Regions from separate parts of the Homo sapiens genome. Here all the other regions are linked to region 3. Evidence: promoter capture Hi-C in human tissues and cell types (Jung and others, 2019). All regions are on one chromosome and are shown on one strand. The core of a region is centred on a gene start or on the middle of the fragment in contact, and the rest is flanking DNA. Distances in the headings are between cores, read along the strand shown.

What was found. The method cuts DNA at HindIII sites, captures the fragments that hold promoters and counts their contacts. A contact is called where the count stands out against the background at its distance.
Region 1: a contact is called between a fragment that was not itself captured here and the fragment with the promoter of SMAD9 in region 3, in 1 of the 25 tissues and cell types used here (H1 embryonic stem cells).
Region 2: a fragment that was not itself captured here is called in contact with the fragment with the promoter of SMAD9 in region 3 in 1 of the 25 tissues and cell types used here (thymus).

What each region holds. Positions count from the first base shown.
Region 1 is chr13:36,871,506-36,874,205 of GRCh38, reverse strand. It overlaps SMAD9 (SMAD family member 9), which reads left to right. Exons shown (of 7, transcript NM_001127217.3): 3 at 1,291-1,548. Among named protein-coding and RNA genes, the nearest start is that of SMAD9, 47 kb to the left of the region's middle. The HindIII fragment of the contact is 5,023 bases long and covers 1-2,700 here.
Region 2 is chr13:36,976,553-36,979,290 of GRCh38, reverse strand. The region is part of intron 6 of ALG5 (ALG5 dolichyl-phosphate beta-glucosyltransferase); the gene reads left to right. Among named protein-coding and RNA genes, the nearest start is that of ALG5, 21 kb to the left of the region's middle. The HindIII fragment of the contact is 7,313 bases long and covers 1-2,738 here.
Region 3 is chr13:36,918,960-36,921,659 of GRCh38, reverse strand. It overlaps SMAD9 (SMAD family member 9), which reads left to right and starts at 1,422. Exons shown (of 7, transcript NM_001127217.3): 1 at 1,422-1,544. RefSeq lists silencers at 1,282-1,331, 1,442-1,511. The HindIII fragment of the contact is 20,741 bases long and covers 1-2,700 here.

The DNA of each region.
Region 1 (2,700 bases), core at 69-2,568, 47 kb after region 3:
GTCCTTTGTAGCTCTTTGAGGTTTTCCTTTGTTATTTCTTAGACCACTTCCCCCTTGTATTTTCTTTGCTTCCCTGTCTGGAACTTATGTTGGTCACAGATGGCTCTTCAACAACAGTTTTGGAGTAGCTACTTTATGCCAGGCATTGTAACCTTCTAGGAGTCGGTAGGACGTGAGGGCCTGGGCAAAGCTTGCCCTTAAGAATTTGAATTTATTCTGAAATTTTGTGTATAATCAGAATCAAGAACAGTAACATTCTTTTTAAAAAATGAAACCCAGAAAAGCATAGTAAATGAACAAACATCATTTATGTTTTGTTATTGCTGCTTATTTTATTTTTTTGAGACAGAGTTTCACTCTTGTCACCCAGGCTGGAGTGCAATGGTATGATCTCGGCTCACTGCAACTTCCACCTCCCAGATTCAAGCGATTCTCCTGCCTCAGCCTCCTGAATAGCTGGGATTACAGGTGCCCGCCACCACACCCGGCTAATTGTTGTATTTTTAATAGAGACGGGGTTTCACCACGTTGGCTAGGCTGGTCTCAAACTCCTGATCTCAGGTGATCTGGCTGCCTCGGCCTCTCAAAGTGCTGGTATTACAGGCGTGAGCCACTGTGCCCTGCTGCTGCTCATCTTTTACTTAGTCACTTTTATTATTATTCACCGTTTGTGTTTTACTTAATAACTTTTAATTACTCACCTTGAAATCTTTCCATTAAGGACACATAGAATGTTTTTATTTCAGTGGCACTACTGAACCTGAAATTGAGTCTGGTCATCTAAATAATTCAACATGATCTCTGAAGGAAAAATATTCTGGGGATCACTTAGGGTTTCATTGCAAGCAAGAGAAACTGATTTTGCCTTGGGGGAAAAAAAGACTTATTTGGCAGAATTAAAGAAAGACGTAACAATCAGGTTGCCAGAAGGCCAGGTATTAGGACAGCTCTGGTCATTTCCAAGGTAGGAATAAAGAGCAGGTCTCTTTAGAGTGCTGACACTAGAAAGATCCTTCTCCAAATGCTTTTGTGAATTATGACATTCTGCTTAAGATTCCGGTTACAAGGAGAAGACTGTTACCTTAGCTTACTCACATGCTTGCTTCTTAGGTGGAGATGGGGACTTAATCGACAGTTTTATGATGAGCACAAAGACTAATGGGAGTAGTTCCCAAGGGGAAAAACAGCTCTATCATAAACAAAAAATAGATAAGAACAGCAAGTATCCACTCTGTTGTGTACTGATGAGCAATGTTCAATTCTAACTGCCTTGTTCCTTTCTGATCCTAGTACTGCCTCCTGTGCTCGTGCCAAGACACAGTGAATATAACCCCCAGCTCAGCCTCCTGGCCAAGTTCCGCAGCGCCTCCCTGCACAGTGAGCCACTCATGCCACACAACGCCACCTATCCTGACTCTTTCCAGCAGCCTCCGTGCTCTGCACTCCCTCCCTCACCCAGCCACGCGTTCTCCCAGTCCCCGTGCACGGCCAGCTACCCTCACTCCCCAGGAAGTCCTTCTGAGCCAGAGAGTCCCTATCAACACTCAGGTCAGTAAGAACTATGGTCTGTGGGGAAATACGGGAAAATAAGCCCAACATCATGATTTATGATGAACAGTCACAATGACAGTCATTGTAACTGTCATTCATATAGTATAAACAGTTTACAAAGCAATCAGCCTTAAAATGATTAGGACTATACCTATTTTGAAGCAGTTACCCTGGAGATAGAACATGTTTTTCCTCTAGTTTTAGTTCTAATGCTCTGGAAGCTCTCAGAAACTAAATGGATTTGAATAGTATCCCTGGGAATTTCCAAGGATTTTTTTTTTTAAGGCAGTAGAAATAAGATGAAAAGACTTCTGTAATCCAAGCAGAAGACTTGGCCTGAGGACAAGCAACATGGAAGATCAATGCTAGGCCTTTACCTTGGTTGCCTCTTTCAACAATCAAAGGAAGCCCTTGCCTAAAACATATGCCTGCATCCTTTGAGTGAGGCAGAAAGTGAAGCCCCAGCTCCAGCCAGTGCATTATCCCTTTCTGCCATGTGAAGCCAGGACAGCATCTTAAATATAGAGCTCTTCAGTTTGCTGAATTGAGAAAGCATATGGAAGGGAAAGGGAGCCTCTAGCATGCTGTCATAATTGCTCTTGCTACCATACCTGTAAAGTGGATCTAAGTTGAGATAATGAATAAAAGATACATATGCACTTTGTGAGTGTGAGATAAATACTGTGCGGAGCTGACAAGTTCCTAAAGGCATGCATAAATACATTTGGTGCCAGATGTTACAATCTGCCTCATTCATTTATTCCTATAATCATTTATTTAATGGATATTTATTAAACTCTTACTATATGCAAGCATTGCCTTAGGATTGCTGAAAGGGGAATTAAAAGGTTAATAAAAATTGTCCCTACGATGTGGGAAGATAAAGAGGGAATTGCCTCTTCACCTCTCAGTTACTTAGTTCCTTTTGCTCCTCAGCAAGTTACATAAGCATCTATTATATTTGTTGCACTATATTATATAATTCCTGTGTGTCTATTTTCCCCATTGAACAGCGAGCCTTCTTTTTTCTATGTCTAGCACAGAGCCTGAAATGCAGTGGTTGCTCATCAGTTGCTTATTGAATAAATAAATTACTACACAGGCGTTTATTTATTTTTATTTTTTATTTTTTATTTTGAGACGGAGTCT
Region 2 (2,738 bases), core at 33-2,532, 58 kb before region 3:
CAGTGGCTCATCCCTGTAATACCAGCACTTTGGGAACCTGAGGACAGGCGTTTGAGACCAGCCTGGCCAACATGGTAAAACCCCATCTCTACTAAAAATACAAAAACTTAGCCATGCATGGTGGCACACACCTGTAGTCCCAGCTACTCAGGAGGCCGAAGCAGGAGAATAACTTGAGCCCAAGAGGTGGAGGTTGCAGCGAGCCAAGATCGTGCCACTGCACTCCAGCCTGAGCTACAGAGCAAGACTCCATAATTAATAAATAAATAAGGAAATGTATGTCAGGTGTTTAGCATGTGTTCAGCACTCAACCAGTACCTGTAATTATTAACATTCATCTTTTTTTCTTTTTTTTTCCTTTTTTTTTTTTTAATTGAGACCAAATCTCACTCTGTCACCCAGGCTGGAGTGCAGTGGCACAATCTCAGCTCACTGCAGCCTCTGCCTCCTGGGTTCAAGTGATTCTCCTGCCTCAGCCTCCCAAACAGCTGGGATTACAGGCATCCACCACCAGGCCCGGCTAACTTTTTTTGTATTTTTAGTAGAGGTGGGGTCTCACCATGGTGGCCAGGGCTGGTCTTGAACTCCTGACCTCAAGTGATCCTCTCACCTGGGCCTCCCAAAATGCTGGGATTACAGGCGTGAGCCACCACGCCCGGCTAACATTCATCTTTGTGCTTGATATTTTTTCATCAGATCCAATTCTGTTACTGTTTATGATTGTTAATATAAATTAGCTATATCTCTATCTATTCCTTTTCTCCAGTAAATTGTGTGAAAATATTTAACTTAAAAAGTACTGAGGACCGGGCACAGTGGCTCACGCCTGTAATCCCAGCATTTCAGGAGACTGAGGCATGCGGATCACCCGAGGTCAGGAGTTTGAGACCAGCCTGGCCAACGTGGCAGAACCCCATCTCTACTGAAAATATAAAAATTAGCTGGGTGTGGTGGCACGTGCCCATAATCCCAGCTACTTGGGAGCTGAGATAGGAGAATCTCTTGAAGCCAGAAGGCGGAGGTTGCAGTGAGCTGAGATTGTGCCACTGCACTCCAGCCTGGGTGACGGAGTGAGATTCCGTCTCAAAAAAAAAAAAAAAACAAAGGTGGGGCGCAGTGACTCATGCCTATAATCCCAGCACTTTGGGAGGCCGAGGCGGGTGGATCATGAGGTCAGGAGATGGAGACCATCCTGGCTAACATGGTGAAACCCCGTCTCTACTAAAAATACAAAAAATTAGCCGGGCATGGTGCCACGTGCCTGTAATCGCAGCTACTCGGGAGGCTGAGGCAAGAGAATCGCTTGAACCCAGGAAGTGGTTGTTGCAATGAGCCGAGATCTTGCCACTGTACTCCAGCCTGGGCAACAGAGTGAGATTCCATTAAAAAAAAAAAAAAATACTGAGAAAGATTTTGATTGATTTAGCATTTCTTGCTAGAAGATAATATATACTTTACTTCTTACCACCGTTTTTGTTTTTTTTTTTTTTTTTTTTTTTTGGAGACAGTCTCACTCTGTCGCCCAGGCTAGAGTGCAGTAGCATGATCTCAGCTCACTGCAACCTACACTTCCCGAGTTCAAGCAATTCTCATGCCTTAGCCTCCCAAGTAGCTGGGAATACAGGTGTGTGCCACCATGCCTGGCTGATTTTTGTATTTTTAGTAGAGACGGGGTTTCACCATGTTGGCCAGGCTGGTCTTGAACTCATGGCCTCAAGCGATTCCCCTGCCTCAGCCTCCCAAAGTGCTGGGAGTATAGGCATGAGCCACTGCACCTATTTTTTTGTTTTTTTAAATGAGTTGGGATCTCCTTCTGTTGCCCAGGCTGGGGTGCAATGGTGCCATCATGACTCAGCCACAATCCTCTTACCTCAGCCTCCCTAGTGGCTAGGACTACAGGCACATGCCACCACACCTGCCTCACTTATTAAAAGCCAACTGTCATAGTAACTTAAATACTCATTTTAAAAAACCATGGGAAATTCAGTTATACTCCAAAAGAGGTTTAAAAGAAAGAGACTCCATGTCTACAGACATTTTCTAACATGGGCAGTTTTTAAAACAAAGATATCTTTCATTTCTGAAGAACAGCTAACTTTTTGAAAAAATGTTTAGATTAATTCTACCTGATAGTGAGATTGGTATCAGGGATTCAGCTCTTACATCAGAATTCTTCAGATACACAAAACTCTTAAAAGCTCTTGGGGACTTATGCTGAGATAAAAACGAGATTTGTAAAAGAAAGTTTTTTGGATTTTGATTTGTTTTTAGTTAAATTACATGGTATTTTAACTCTACTCATGAATCTTTGAAATGGAGAAGTATGTTCTTTTTTATGTATTACTCAATAGTGTTGTTGCTCTTTTCAAGTTTAAAGTTAAAACTGATTTGCCATATGCTATTTGAACTTTTAACATGCTTCCTCTCTAAGAAAATCATTCTCTCCCTTTCTGCACAAAGTACCTCTACCAGAAAAACAAGGGAATAAATTATTTTACTACTAAATAGTAGGCAAAGTATATAACACAATTTTTTTTTTTCCTGAGACAGAGTCTCGGTCTGTTGCCCAGGCTGGAGTGCAGTGGTGCGATCTCGGCTCACCGCAACCTCTGCCTCCCAGGTTCAAGCGATTCTCCTGCCTCAGCCTCCCAAGTAGCTGGGACTACAGGCGCTTGCAACCACAGCCGGCTAATTTATGTATTTTTAGTAGAAATGAGGTTTTGCCATGTTGGCCAGGC
Region 3 (2,700 bases), core at 173-2,672:
TTAAAAACTTGAGCCACAAGGTATCAATTCTGAGGACCTAATTAGTTTACTGGCAATAAAGTCCACATCCAGCCTAATCCTTAATATATAATCTGTAGCCCTTACCGGTCCCGCTGTTTCCTGGTGTTTCTCACCCAGGACAATCTCAAACCCAACACATAGCCGGGTGCAGAGGTATCTGGGCCAGTGTAGAAAGAAGACTTTGAGGTTAAGGCATGGTATTTAAGGTTCTGCTGCAAATGTTGTTTTAAACAAATCACCGTTCAACTACAACGGTATAATAATGCAAAAATAGCATCTGCCATGAAGAAAGTGCAGTGCTTTGAGAACTAGAAAAAGCAGTTAAATTTAAGGCCTTGCTTTACATTTCGGAGCCGCCATCGGGGCCAACTGGAGGTATGACTTTCCTGCACACAGGAGCAAGCTGAAAACTGCCCTGTGGCTTTATTCCACGTTCACCCCTGCAGCAAATGCCTTTTCTGTGAGGAACTACGGGCTGATGGGGAATCAGAGGTGGTTCTTCCTAAGTGGCGTTTCTGAGTGGGTTCCAGGAGTCCACAGTGACTTTAAGAGGCAGGCTACCTGGGGGACAGCCAGGCCGTGAGACGAGAAAGTTGTACAGTAACATTGCTGTGTGCCCATAAGTTTGTATCTTTTATTAGATTAGATAATATATCTCACATGCTGGGTTGTTAAGCAAATAAATATGTGTAAGGAAATTACAATCCACATAATTACATGAGTCGTTTTAACCACCACTCACCCCCAGAGTGATTAGATTTTCTTCTGCCTATGCCATTGCGGCCCAGTTGCTCTGTCACTGTCCATGGGGACAGGATCCCCTTACTCCGAAAAGCAAATCAGGAACAAACAGGGCAAGTGAGAGTCACTATCAGGGCCCAGAAACATGTGAGGAACAGCAGCTCAGAAGGGTCTCCAGACTGATGGGCCGGTGATCCTATATTCTTGTTGGGCTGACAACTCTTCTGGTTTCGGGCTCCAGGTGCTGGCAAGAAATCTCAGAGGTGGGGTGGGAGAGAGAGACGCGAGGCGACCCACGCAGACAAAGGGCTCCCACCCCACCCCCGGGCCACCCCGGCAGGCCGGGCAGGGGCCGAGCCTGGGGTCGCGCAGGGGGACCGAGAGGGCAGCGCGGGGCTGGGGGTGGGGAAGAGGCGGGAACCGAGCCGCAGGCCGCTGCGAGGAGTACTACCCCGCCACCCCCGCGCCGCGAGTTTCCGCGCACGTGGCCGTGGGGCCGGTCTCGCTCCCGCCCCCCGCCGGGCCCGCGCAGCCCCCTCCTCTGCGGCTCCCGGAGCGGCCAGAGCGCGCGGCGGCGGGCGGGGGCGGGCCGCAAGCAGGGCTCCCTGGCCGCTTTCCAGGTCGGCGCACTAATACGGGCGATGAGGCTTCGCGGCTCCAGTCTGACTGACGCCGGCTGGGGCCGCCGCCGCCGCCGCCGCCGCCGCCGCTGCTGCAGCCGCTGTCTCGGTCCCCGCCGCCGCCGCCGGGCCCTGCAGGCGCTGGGCGCGCGCAGCCAGGCAGTGAGTGCGCGGCGCTCGGAGCGGGCGGCCGGGGGACCACGGCGGGGGCGGGGTTGGGGGCGCCGGACCTGGGTGGGGGAGGGATGAGTGGCACGGCGGGGACAGGTAAGACGTGCCCTCCTCGGCCGCGCGCTGCTTGTGTGCGTGCGTGTGAGCGCATTGAGTGGAGGGCGAAGTTGTTCGTCCTCGGGGCAGCCTGGGAGGCTCCTCGGCGTGAGGCTTGGCTTTTGGCGGTCGTTGTTCCCGGGTTTTTTGGTGGAGCCTGTCTGGGGTGGAGTGGGGTGGGGTGGGGTGGGCGCGGGGCCGGAGGGGACTGCTCTGGGGAGTTGGCCGCGGCGCAGCTCGCCTTCCTCGCGCCTGCATCCGCCCGCGCCGCGGGCCCCGGGACCTGTCAGGGGATGTTCGACCCGCGGCGGGGGCGGCGGTCGGGTCGGGGCTGGGGCCCGGGGCGTGGGCAGGGACCAGGATAGGCGCCTGAGGGGTCGCTTGCTGTAGCTGGAGATAGGGGACAGCGGACAGAGGGGGCGGCGGGGGTCGTCATTGTGACTCTTTGGGGGCCACTTTTAAACTCGCCAGCGCCGAATTGGCCTCACTTGCCTTCTGTTTCGTAGGCTTTTTGCTTTGTTTACCTTTGAGGCATGCGAACTGAGAAAAAAAGTTAGGAATGTTGTTGAAGTGTCTCCGGGCTCGCGCTTGGACTGTGTCGGAGCCGGGGTGTTTGTCTTTTCCTTGGCCCGCCCCTCGGTGCCAGCTCTCCGCAGAGGGGAGGGGGCGAGGTGGGAAGCAGATACAGGAGACTGCCTGACGCCAGCTTTGTGATCGGAAGGAGGAGCGCTGGGAGAACATTTTTATGGATGGCTAATCGCTGACAAGTTTTCCCGTTACTATTCCTTCCTCCTCCTGCCCTTGACCGTGGACATTTGAAGTGATAGTTTGGAAATACTACGTTGACTTATTTCTGGGCTGGAGTGGGTACTCCTGAGAACTAACCTACAAAGGATACAAATCGAGTTTGGAGATAAAATTGTATGTAAATTCTTTACCCAGTAGTTTACAGTGAGAAACACACCCACAGGGCACTGTGGAGTGCTTTGGATGGATCCAGTTTACTAGTACCATTTCGGTGGCTTGCCAGATTTCTCGGATGATCTTTTGG